Regions from separate parts of the Homo sapiens genome. Here region 2 is linked to region 1. Evidence: promoter capture Hi-C in 16 types of primary human blood cells and fetal thymus (Javierre and others, 2016). All regions are on one chromosome and are shown on one strand. The core of a region is centred on a gene start or on the middle of the fragment in contact, and the rest is flanking DNA. Distances in the headings are between cores, read along the strand shown.

Region 1 (5,941 bases), core at 998-3,497:
CCAATCTTGCGATGATCCCATCTTTCAAATGTTTCTGGGCACCCCCCCAATAGTACCCACCCCTCACACTACCCTGCCTACTGCGGTCGAGAGACTCTGCAGCGCTGTGGAGCTGAGGGCAGGGTATTGGGACCCGGTCTTCCCATGTGGAAAACGGAACAGCACACCAGGCAGTTCCCCTCCCAGGGGAGTTGCAAGGGTAGAAAATGTAATGAAACCCTCAGATACTGGAGCAGGGCAGCCATGGGTTCAAATCTGACACCTTTACACTAACATCTCTCATTCCAGGGACCCCGGTGGCAGCCACGTGGCACTTGCTGCCAACCACAGGGCACTGCTGGCCATCAGGTGTGCCTCACCTGGCACTGGAGTAAGCAGGGCTCCAAGTGTCCTGGTGCCAGGCTCACCTCCCCTCACCTGCTCAGGAACACCGCCCGTTAGTGTTCAGAACACCCCTTTCACAGATGGAAAAAACGAAGCTCAGAAAGGAGACATTTACCCTCAGTCACAGACCAACATTGCTGGTAAATGCCCCAGGGTGGGGGTGAAGACGATGGGGAATGGGGAAGACGATTTGGAGGGCTTGGATGCCCAGTGCTGAGCCCGGTGTGGGGTGCAGGTGCAGGCCTGGGAAGACAGGAGACCCAGCTCTGCAGATTCACTGCCTGTGACCTGGGCAAGGAGGTCACCACACAGCCTCAGTGTCCTTGGAGTCCTTATATTTACCCTATAGAGGATAGTCAGGGCCTGGGCACATGGCCTGAGCTCACTCAATGGTGGGAATGACGCAAGAACAAGTTTTGGAGCCGGGATCGGGCCAACAGGGGTCGCTGTGGAGGCACATGTGGTCGCGGGGAGGCCAAGGGCGGGTCTGAAGGAGAGCGGGGGCGGCTGCACCCTGGCATTCACCTGGGGGTCACCCGCAGGCCGCAGTGCTGGCCAGGGGCCCACGTCTCATCCTGGAGGCCACTGCTCGGGTGCACACAGCCCACTTCCTGCGGGCATCCAGCTGGGTGACGCCCCCCCCCACCGCTGGACAGCGGGTCCCTGTCATGGTTACGGCAGCTCCCCCAAACCTGCTCTGGTCCCTGGAATAAGGGGTTAAACCGGTCGGCTGACTTCTCCTGCTCCTCAAAGTCCAGACGCTTCAAGGTGGAGAGACGGGGAAACTGAGGCCAGAACGGGGTAGCTAGTTGTTCGCAGTCGCGCTAGGGGACCCGGTCCTCCGTATTCCAAGGGGGGCACCGTGGGCCATTAGGGAGCGACGGGGAAAGTGGAAAGGAGACGCGCTTCGTGCCCACCGCCCCGAGTTAGAGCCGAACCAGCCCGGGACCGAGCGAGACGGAGCGGCTGCGGGCCGCGTCTCGGGTCCCCGCGCCACGTTTAGTGCCGCTGCGGCCTCCCGGCCAGTCCCCCCTACTCTCTAAGCCTCAGTTTCCCGGTCTAGGAAAAGGGCTTCGAATGTTGCGGGTCTGGCACTGCTGGGGCAAAGGCAGAACAATCTGGAGGGCGGCCGGGATTGGAAGTCCGGGAAAGACTTCGGCCATCCAACATTCCCTGGGGGGACGGGGCTCAGGACGCGGAGGGTCGCTCCGCGGGGGAAGGGGACGACCGGCTGTCTTGGCCGGAGGGGAACCGGACGGGATGACCTCATCCGCGGCTCCAGCCTGGAATGCGGCGGTCGGGGAGGGGGGCAGGGTGCCTGTCCATCTCCCCGGGCCCCCCACCCCCCACTTCCCGCTCTCCGCGTGGGCCTCGGCGGAGGGGAGACATTCCGCCGCGTCGCCCGCTGCCCGCCCCGGCCCTTCCTTCCCCCGCGCAGGAAGGCGCGGAGACAGCCCCCGCTCTGCCCCTCGGCTCGCCCCCTCCTCGCGCATTTTGGCCGCTCAGCCGTGTCCGATCCTCTGCCCCCTCCACCAGCCTGGAACGGGACACGAAGCCCGAAAGCTCGGAGTTTCCTCGCGCGGCTCCGCGGCCGCGCCCGGCCTTCCTGTGGGCACCCGGGGGCGCCTCTCCCGGGCGGGTCCCGTCCCCGTTCCGGCCCCGGGAGCCTAGTAGGGTGCAGAGTCCCCGCGGGCGCCGGGACCCGCCGGCCTCCACGGCCTCCGCCCCGAGGACCCGCGCGCCCGGGCTGTTACCTGGCTCCGCGAGCCCCGGGGGCGCGGGACGAGGGCGGACTCGTCGTCTGCAGCGGCGGCGGCCGCGCGTCCCGGCTGGCAGCCCGGGAGAGTCGCTGGGCCGGTCTGCGCCGCCCTGGCCGCGGGCTCCGCGGGCTGGATCCGGGGGCGGGGGCGGGGTGTGGGCGCTCCCGCCTCCCGCCCGTCTCCTCCCGCCCGCGGGCGGGGCCCGGCCCCCTCCCCGGCCCCCTCCCCGGCACCGTCCTCGCGGCCGCCGAGAGCTGGCAGGGACGCGGCTGGGGGGCCAGGCCAGGCCTCTGCTCGCCACCCCGGACAAGGCCAGCCGGGGAACGTGCGGGCTGCCCCGGGGAGGCGACTCCGGTCCCCGGCCGCCAACCCCTCTTCCACCGGTTCCCCTCGTGGCCTTGCTTGGGGCGTCCAGGCCTGATGAACTCTCCTCCCTCCTGGGCCCTCCAGCCGCGCCCTGCGGGAGTTCGGGGAACCGGGAAGCTCGATCTGAGGCCTTGAATGCCTGGGCCTTTAAACCTTGATGTTTACAGGCATGACATGCCCACTCCTTTGCTCCCCATTCTCATTCCCTTCCATCCGGTACAGGCCCCGCGGTGCCCAGGAGGAAGACAGCCATACTGGGGCGACTGGTAGAGTGGGGTAGAGTGGCCGTCAAGACCGGGACCCTGGAGCCGGACAGCCTGGGCTCCTGTCCTGCCTCAGTCACTACTTACCTTTCTCTGCCTCAGTTTCCTGATCTGAAAGTGGGATAGATAATAGCAGCATCAGATGTTGTGTGAAGTGTTTCCTGCTCCAAGAGCACCTAGGAGGCTTGCTCGGCAGGTAAATGAAGTCGCATCTCAGAGACTTTACAGACCCTCCCCCCACCCCGCCCACCTCCATGGAGGGCAGGGAATCAGCCATACCCGGGACCCTGTGCCATCCTCAAGGAGGGGAGATAGATCTCTGGCCCCTGCCTCCCGTTGTTGTGCCCTCCTTTGACTACTCCCATCTGACTATAGAGTCCTCGGGCTGTCAGGGCACAGAGAGGTCCCTAATACTTCCTGCAGGGCCTGGGGGCTCAGGAAATCTTCCTAGAGGAGATGATACCTGAGTTAAGTCTCTCTCTCTCTCTTTTTTTTTTTTTTTTTTTTTTTTTTTTTTTTTTTTTTTTTTTTGAGACGGAGTCTCTCTCTGTTGCTCAGGCTGGAGTGCCATGGCATGATCTCAGCTCACTGCAGCTTCCACCTCCCGGGTTCAAGCGATTCTCCCTCCTAAGCCTCCGGACTAGCTGGGATTACAGGCACCCACCCACGCCCGGCTAATTTTTGTATTTTTTAGTAGAGAGGGGGCTTCACCATGTTGGCCAGGCTGGTCTTGAACTCCTTACCTCAGGTGATCCGCCTGCCTTGGCCTCCTCAAGTGCTAGGATTATGGGTGTGAGCCACTGCATGGTTGTGAGTTAAGTCTTAAAGGACGTGTAGGCAGAGGGAAGGGCAGTGGAAATGCACAGTGCACAGCTGGCAAGGGACAGCACAGCAAAGGCTGGGAGTGGAGGACCCTGCAGCGGAGGCAAACCCGGCTGAAGGAGACTGGCTGAGCGCTGTTGTGGCCGGGGATGAGGAGCTGTATTTACCCGCAGGTGGAGGAGACAAGGTCTTTACTGTTCACCCAGGGGCTAGGCCTCTTCCACTGGCTCCCTGAATCCCCATGCTGGCCACCAAGGGAAGGAGCTATTTCTGCAGCTGGACAAATGAGGAAACAGAGGCACAAAGCATTCTAGCATTTGCTCAAGTGGCACAGCAGTAGGAACTCTTTCCCTGGGGGCCGGCCCAGGAGTATTTTGTCCCATGGAGAACTGGAACAGCATCAGGACAGTGAGCCAGCAGGCAGCACTGGCAGGTGTACATTTAGAAGACTGACTGTTGCCCGGCGTGGTTGCTCACGCCTGTAATCCCAGCACTTTGGGAGGCTGAGGTGGGCAGATTACTTGAGGCTGGGAGTTTGAGACCAGCCTGACCAATATGGTAAAACTCCGTCTCAACTAAAAATACAAAAATTAGCCAGGCGTGGTGGCGGGTGCCTGTAATCCCAGCTACTCGGGAGGCTGAGGCAGGGAGAATTGCTTGAACCTGGGAAGCGGAGGTTGCAGTGAGCTGAGATCGCACCACGGCACTCCAGCCTGGTCAACAGAGCGAGACTCCATCTTAAAAAATAAAAATAAAAAAGTGCCGGGCGCGGTGGCTCACACTTGTAATCCCAGCACTTTGGGAGGCCGAGGCGAGCAGATCACTTGAGGTCAGGAGTTCGTGACCAGCTTGGCCAACATGGTGAAATCCTGTCTCTACTAAAAATACCAAAAATTAGCCGGGCATAGTGGTGGGCGCCTGTAATCCCAGCTATTCAGGAGGCAGAGGCAGGAGAATTGCTTGAATCTGGGAGACGGAGGTTACAGTGAGCTGAGATCGTGCTACTGCACTCCAGCCTGGGCGACAGAGCGAGACCCCATCTCAAAAAAACAAAAAACAAAATAGAAATCTGACTGTGAGTGAAGAATGGACTGGAAGGACAGTGATGGAAACAAAGAACTAGTGCTACTGTGGTTATTACTATTAATAGCATCAGTAGTAACCAGCACTTATTGAGCACCTGATGCATACCAGGTCCTGTAGCTCATTAACATGCATTATGACATTTAATTCTTGTGAGAGCCCCATAGGGAAAGTCCTGCCATGGTGTCCCTTTTGCAGATAAGTGAAGTGATTTGCGTAAAGCTCCCTACTTTGGCAGGATGGCCATACTTTCCAGTTTGCCTAGGACAGCCCAGATTACACATACTGTTCCAGTGTAATTATTAATAGCACTTCCTTTCATTCTCAAAGGTGACCTGGTTAGACAATCAATTACACGTCACTCTAGTCAGAGGATCCCTAGAGCGGCTGGTAAAGGAGGCAGTCTGGTGCAATGTCAAAGGCCCTGAGCTCAAATCCTGGCCCAGTGGCTGACCGTGGGCAAAGCACTTGGCCCATTTGAGCCTCAAGTTTCTCATCTCTGAAATGGGTATAATAGCAGTGTGGGTATTTACTAGTTGGGGTGTTGTGAGCCCCAGGCAGATGACTGAGCAAGCAGTCCTGATGGAAGTGGTTACAACCTGCCCCATGCTTGCTCCATCTTCTTCACCCGCGGGCAGGGAGGGCAGGCAGGAAAGAACAAGAGGTTGAGAACCTCCCTACTATATATGCCACACGCTTTGTCTTCTCCAGCTCATTGACAGGCAACCTGTGAATCAGGAATTCTTGCCCCCTTTTACATCTGGGTAAGCTGAGGCAGAGAGGAGCCCTCTCCCTCCTTTGCAGCCTGCCTCCAGATAGAAACCTATCTCCATGTAGGCTGTGCCCTTGTTCCTGGCTCCACTCCTGATTTAAGGATCTGACTCAGTTTTTCCCTCTGGAAAACGGGAGAAAGGGAGAAGTTTCAATATCCCCAAGAAGGATCCAGGGTTGGGCAGTCTCCCTTTATCATGCTTTTCTCCTCCCCCAATTTCCTGCGGTCCCCTTCCTTCCCTTTGAGAGGCTGTGCCCAGGAGTGCAGGGGTTAACCTTGGCAGGGCTGTAATCATCGTGCAGAATGCAGAACAAATGCCTCCCAGCTGGGGACGGGGAGCTGCTAGGTGAACCAACCGCCCAGAGCTCAGGATCCCCTACCTCCCTGTCTTGAAGGAACCAGGCTCCTCAGGCTATAGTCCCAGGGCTCAGCTGCCCCCTCCACTCAGCCCAGCAGATTGGGTTGGCCAAGGCAAGGGGCCTAAGGGAAGG
Region 2 (5,941 bases), core at 1,265-3,764, 190 kb before region 1:
AGCAAATTTTTTTATTTTTAGTAGAGATGGGATTTCACCATGCTGGCCAGGCTGGTCTCGAACTCCTGACCTCAAGTGATCCATCCACCTCAGCCTCCCAAAATGCTGGGATTACAGGCACACATAAGCCACTACACCCGGTCTCCAGGTGGCTTTAAAACAAAGTCCAGCTGCCTCAGGATGGCAGGGAAGCCTCATCACACTCTTCCAGCCTGGCCTCCCCTTGCTGAGGGGCCCCTGTTTATACCACTGCATATTCCTTGCCGATCACAACACACCAGGACTCCGGGCCCTTCATATGTGCCATGTCCTTGGCCTGAAACACTATGCTTCCTCCTCCTCCGATGACTAGGCAAGCGGCTACTCAGGCCTTAAGACCCAGCTTAATGGCCACCTCTGAGGTCCCTTCACAGTTCATGCCACTCACCGCACCACCAGCCGCCCCCGTCCTGCCCTCCCATGGCCCCTCTCAGAGGCCTCTGTTGCATCCGTGACTATCTTGAGGCCCTTTACTTATCCTTCACAGGCTAGATTAGATGCAACTCACAGTCAGGGACATACACTGTTTACCTGCCAGGACCCAGCACAGATAGGGGCTCAGGGAGTGTTTGCAGAAAAAAAAATTTTTTTTTAAAGTTATCAGGCACTGTTCTAGGCCAGGAAATTAGCTGTGACCAAGAGCTGTGGCCCCTGCCCTGGTGGACTGTAGGAAAGAGACAGTAAACAAGGGACCAAATATAATTTGATGCCCAGCAGGCGAGGGGGAAGGCTGATCCGGGAGCAAAGCTGCACCCAGGCAAAGGCAAAAGGGGTGGAAGAGAATCCCAACTCCCTGAAGCCCCGGAGCCTCACACACTCACACACCTGTGCCACTTGCTCTGTATGGATCCCTGATTCAGGGCACGGGGGCCAGGGGAGGAGGGTGTGAGGTGGGTACAGGAGGAGCACCAGCTGAGAGCAGGCTGAGGTCTGCATGGCAGCCAGGATGAACTCAATGAACACTATTAATGGTGATCATAGCCTCCTCTCTGCTCTAAAAGCTTTCATGGCTCTCTATTGCCCCTGTCCAAGCCCTAGCAGTGAGGCCCTCCTCCCCAGACCCCTTCCCTACGCTCTTGCTACTTCTCAAACATGACCACCCGTTTCTGTCCACACTGCTGTCTCCTCGCTAGTCCATCTCCACCTGACAAGGCCCTATAATCACAGGAGGACACCTCCCTCAGGAAGGCTGCTGCCACCAGCAGGGATGTGCTGTCCATCTTCCAAGCACCCCACACGCTGCTTCCGGCAGCCTTACCCTTGCTCAGCACGTGCTGCCCCCAGGACAGGCAACTGTGAAAGAAAGCTGGAACGGACCTGGATACAAATTCTGGCTTAGCCTGGGACTCACTGAGTTACCTGGGGCATGACACTTCACCTCGCCACACCTTGGTTTCCTCATCTGTTTGATTAAGATGTTACTACCAACCTTCAAGGATCAAATCTGGTAACGTGAAAGCACCCGGCTGAGGGCCGGGCAGGCACCCGGTGGGCAAGGCAACTTCTCTCCTCCTGGCCCCAGGACACTGACTCAGCTCCTCCCCCCACATCCCTTCTGCTCCTGACAGAAAAGGGGAGGCTGCTGACGACAGGAAGGGCCAGCAGGGAGGTGGCAGGATGTCCAGGAGGACGCCGAGGAAGTCCAGGCCATCACACTCACAGGGCAGGGGCTAGGCGTGCCACGCCCCCCAGCAGCCCAGCCCGCCCCCAGCAGCCCACCCACTCCTCCGCAGGGTCTCCACTCCCCTGAAAGAGGCCTACTGCCGCCTGTGCACACACACACCCTGCTCATCCTCCCCCAGGAGGGCCACTGGGCTGTCAGAGCCTCCCTGAAGCACTAGCCAGAAACCAAAAGCAGCCCCACCCCTCCCTTCCCGAACATCACGGTCAGTGGGCCAGAAGGACAGGGAAAGGAGCTACTCCTTCTCTTATACTTGGGGTGACCTCGGGCAACTCACCAGCGCCCCTCCCCAAGCCTCAGTTTATCTGGCTGTGAAGTGGGGAGTCCAGCGAACCCAGCTGTGAGGCTCAATATGCTAACTATGGCACAGGTAATTGATGGGGCTTGGGTACAGCTCACCCCCATGAGAAAGGCAAACCCCTGCCATCATGCCCCCTACTCAGACTCGCAGGCTTGTCCCAAGGCCCCAGGACCGCTGCAAAGTGCAAGCCCAGGAAGACGTGGTATCCCGCTGCTTCAGACGTCCCGGGACTGCCTCCCGGGCTGTGGGTGGGGCGGTCCGGCCACTTCTCGCCCACCCGACCTCGGGCCAGCGGCCACACGGAGGGCTGGCTTGCCCAGGCCCGGGTCAGCGCGACCCATCCGCACCCACGAGCGCCCCTCCCCAGCCCAGGCCCACCTCCGCTCCTCCCTGGGGCCCCTGGCCGCCTTGGGGAATCGGGTCTTCGTCTAGGGGGCTGGAGGGGAGGTGGGAAAGGGTCGCCCCGAATCCACCCGTGACTGGTGCCGCAAGTGTGAGGAGGGGGCGCCCGAGACGGGTCGTTCCGTCCCCTCAGGGTCGCCTGGGCTCCCGGGGGCGAGTGGGCGAGGGAAGGCGAGGAGGAGCCTGCGGGAAGGGTGAGGCCGGTCTGGCCGAAAGCGCTTCGGAGGTGGCCCCGTCTTCCGGCCCAGCCCTCCTCTCGCCTTCGGGAAATGAGGAGGGGGCTGCCCCGGAGGGGAGAGGCTGGGCTCTGCCTCGGGTCGTCGCCCTTCTCCCGGCCTCGGGCGCGGGCGGCTGACTGGGGCACTCACCGTCATGGCGGCGCCCCAGGGCGGCGGGAGCAGGAGGCAGGAACGTGGACGCGGCTCTCGGGCCGGGCTCCGCGGCGCGGGAACCCCGCCGCCGCCGCCGCCGCCGCCCCTCTCGGCCGCCCGCCGCCGCGCCTCCGGCCCTTCCTTTCCCCGACGCTGCCCCGGCCCCTTCCATCCGCCCATAAAACTTTTTTTTTTTTTTTTTCAAACTTCCTGGGAGGACCCGAGCGGGCCAATGGGTGGCGGGGAAGCCGAGACAAACAGCGGCGGGGGCCGCGGCGGGCCAATGGAAGCGCGAGACGGGCCGGGGGCGGGACCTGCCGCAACGGGACGGGCGCGCTAGGGCGGCGGGGCGGCGGGACGGCGGGACGGCGGGGTGGGCGGATGGGGCCGCAGGGAAGGGAGGGCGGTGGCGGCCGGAGGGCGGGCGGGCCCGGGCCGCGGGCGCGCTGGGAGGAAGGAAGGGCCCAGGGTGCAGGTGACTCCGGCAATGGCGCGGGGGCGGAGGATGCGGGCGGCCGGGCGTGGGCACGACTCGCCCAGGCTGCGCTTCCCGACCCGGCCCCGGAGCGATGGGTCCGCTAGGGCTCGGCGCCGTGATTTGGCGGGGACCGGGGCAAAGCACCCAGTACTAACGACTCAGCGGGTCCCACTCGCCAAGAGTCGATTTTCGTCCTCACCACAGACTTGGGAGGGAGGTCTTATTTTGCTAATGAGAAAACGGAGGCTCAGAGGGGTGAGCCGATTTGCCCGAGGTCACACAGGAAGAGGCGGAATTCCTAGCGAGTAAGCTGGACACAAAGTGAGTTCTTGGATGGCAGGGTCTCTCCCAAATGCCCACTCCTCACAAATGGGTCTTTTTTGGTTTGGGGTTTTTCAGGTGTGGGCGTGCACCCGTTGCTCAGGTTCCCAGAACGCTGGGCCGTTTGTTAGATGCTCTTTTCCTGCAGGTGAGTAGGGACCGTGGTGGAATTGGTTGCTAAATGCACTAGGAAGTTCGTGTGGCACGGGGATTCCAGCCTAGTGTTACCTTAAGCAAGGCACCTCTCGGTGCTCAATTTCACTCTCTGTAAAATGGGGTAATGCTGTTACCTCATGAGGTTGCTGGAAGGATTAAGTGTTAATTCAAGTAAGGCACCTAGGACAACCTCTTTATCCCTCATTAGCTATCCTTAGGCAAGGAGGCAGGGAAGCTTGGAATAATTGGCATTTCAATTATTCTGTCATCTTGATTTGGGGTTCAAAAATTATTGCCCTTGCCGGGCGCGGTGGTTCAGGTCTGTAATCCCAACACTTTGGGAGGCTGAGGTGGGTGGATCATTGAGATCAGGAGTTCAAGAGCAGACTGGCCAACATGGTGAAACCCCGTCTCTACTAAAAATACAAAAATTAGCCGGGCGTGGTGTCAGGCGCCTGTAATCCAGCTATGTAAAAGGCTGAGGCAGGAGAATCGCTTGAACCCGGGAGGCAGAGGTTACAGTGAGCAGAGATTGTGCCACTGCACTCCACCTTGGGAGACGGAGCGAGACTCCCTCTCAAAAAAAAAAATTATTGCTTTTATAATTACTGTTCCCATTTTGCAGATAAAGAAATGGAGGCCCAGGGAGCTGAAGTTCTTTCCCAGCATTTGCTGCCAGGAGTCTCTCCACCATGAGGAATGAGGCCAAGGTTAAGTCCATCTAACTCTAGAAACTGGCCTTCTGGCACCCCGGGCTGAGTTTTCTCACCCTACCCTTGCACCTCACTCAGGCAGTCAGTCCTTGGGAGAGTGAATGAACACGCAGGAGACCTCACCTACCACCAGGGTCCTGGTCCAGTGCCCTGGGCACCTAACAGCACCAGCCTCCTCCAGGCTTTTCTGGCCCCTGCGACTCCTCCTAGTACCCGCAACACAGTGACCAGACCACTTCCCTGCTCAAAGTTCTTCCACACATCACCAATGCTGACAGATCAGTGCTACATTCCTCTTCTAGGCAGTCAGGAACCATCACAACCTGGCTCCTGCCTGTCATCCTGGCCTTCCAGATTCTCATTTGACAGGCTGGAGAGACACATACTTTGGTCAATTTTGCAAAATACAATAAGTAAATAAAGAGATGCACAGCACTGGAGGCTGGGCGCGGTGGTTTATGCCTGTAATCTCAGCACTTTAGGAGGCCGAGGCGGGTGGATCACCTGAGGTCAGGAGTTCGAGACTAGGCTGGCCAACATGGTGAAACCCCGTCTCTGGTAAAAATACAAAAAATTAGCCGGGCGTGGTGGCACATGGCTGTGATCCCAGCTACTTGGGAGGCTGAGGCAGGAGAATCGCTGGAACCTGGGAGGCGTAGGTTGCGGTGAGTGAAGATCACACCACTGCATTCCACTCCAGCCTAGGCAACAGAGCGAGACTCCATCTCAGAAAAAAAAAAAAAAAAAAAGATACACAGCACTGGACTACTAGGAATTCCCAGGATAAGACAGGTCCTTCTACCCCCTGATGGTTCTCTGCTGTGCCTGGAACACTTCTCTTCCTGTCTTCTGTACCCCAGCACACACACACACACACACCCAGCACACACTCACACACACCCAGCACACACACACACACACACACACACACACACACACACACACACATTCTCTCTCTCTTTCTCCCCTTCCCCCTCCCAATGCTTGTTGGCCTGGAAAATTTCTTCCTTGAAGTCTCAGACCAAAGGAAGCCAAAGTGTCCCCAGCAGACTTAGGAACTGCTGGCCCAGTGCTCCCTACATCTGTACCTTTCCCCACTAAAGTGGTGACCACACTGTTCTCATCAGTTACATGTCAGTGTCCTTACCTAACTGGGCTCCAGTGGCCAGGGCTGGAATGTTTTTTGTCTACATCTTGGAAACCAGCCTAGGGCCTAAGCCCACAGCACATCCTCCGTAAGCACGGCTCGAATGAATGAATGCACCAATGAAGAAACCACAACTCATCCTGGCAGGTCAGAGACAGCACAGCCTCAGGGACCCAGGGGTGAGTTATTAAACTGGCAAAGACCAGAGCTACCAAACTTCGAGGTTATCCAGTCTCAAACCGTTACTCTACTGAGAATAATAAGGTAAGGCTCAGAGAAGGGCACACAAGTTAGGTGCCAAGCCAGAACTCGACTCCAGGCTTTCTGGCTCT

Evidence for each region. Contacts are between HindIII fragments. The CHiCAGO score rates a contact against its expected background, and 5 or more counts as called.
Region 2: a fragment that was not itself captured here is called in contact with the fragment with the promoter of CDC42EP1 in region 1 in 1 of 17 cell types (endothelial precursors); the score reaches 5.2 in endothelial precursors.

The regions. Positions count from the first base shown.
Region 1 is chr22:37,556,786-37,562,726 of GRCh38, reverse strand. CDC42EP1 (CDC42 effector protein 1) reads right to left here and starts at 2,247. Exons shown (of 3, transcript NM_152243.3): 1 at 2,139-2,247. RefSeq lists enhancers at 1-396, 699-928, 397-1,004, 1,005-1,611. The HindIII fragment of the contact is 15,994 bases long and covers 1-5,941 here.
Region 2 is chr22:37,743,271-37,749,211 of GRCh38, reverse strand. All of the region lies in intron 11 of TRIOBP (TRIO and F-actin binding protein), which reads right to left. It overlaps LOC124905115, which reads left to right and starts at 1,913. Exons shown (of 3, transcript XM_047441691.1): 1 at 1,913-2,090. The coding sequence starts at 2,073. It overlaps LOC102724378 (a long non-coding RNA gene), which reads left to right and starts at 3,268. Exons shown (of 3, transcript NR_160697.1): 1 at 3,268-3,593; 2 at 3,672-3,741; 3 at 4,375-4,902. RefSeq lists silencers at 2,209-2,318, 2,539-2,768, 3,109-3,408. The HindIII fragment of the contact is 2,944 bases long and covers 1,043-3,986 here.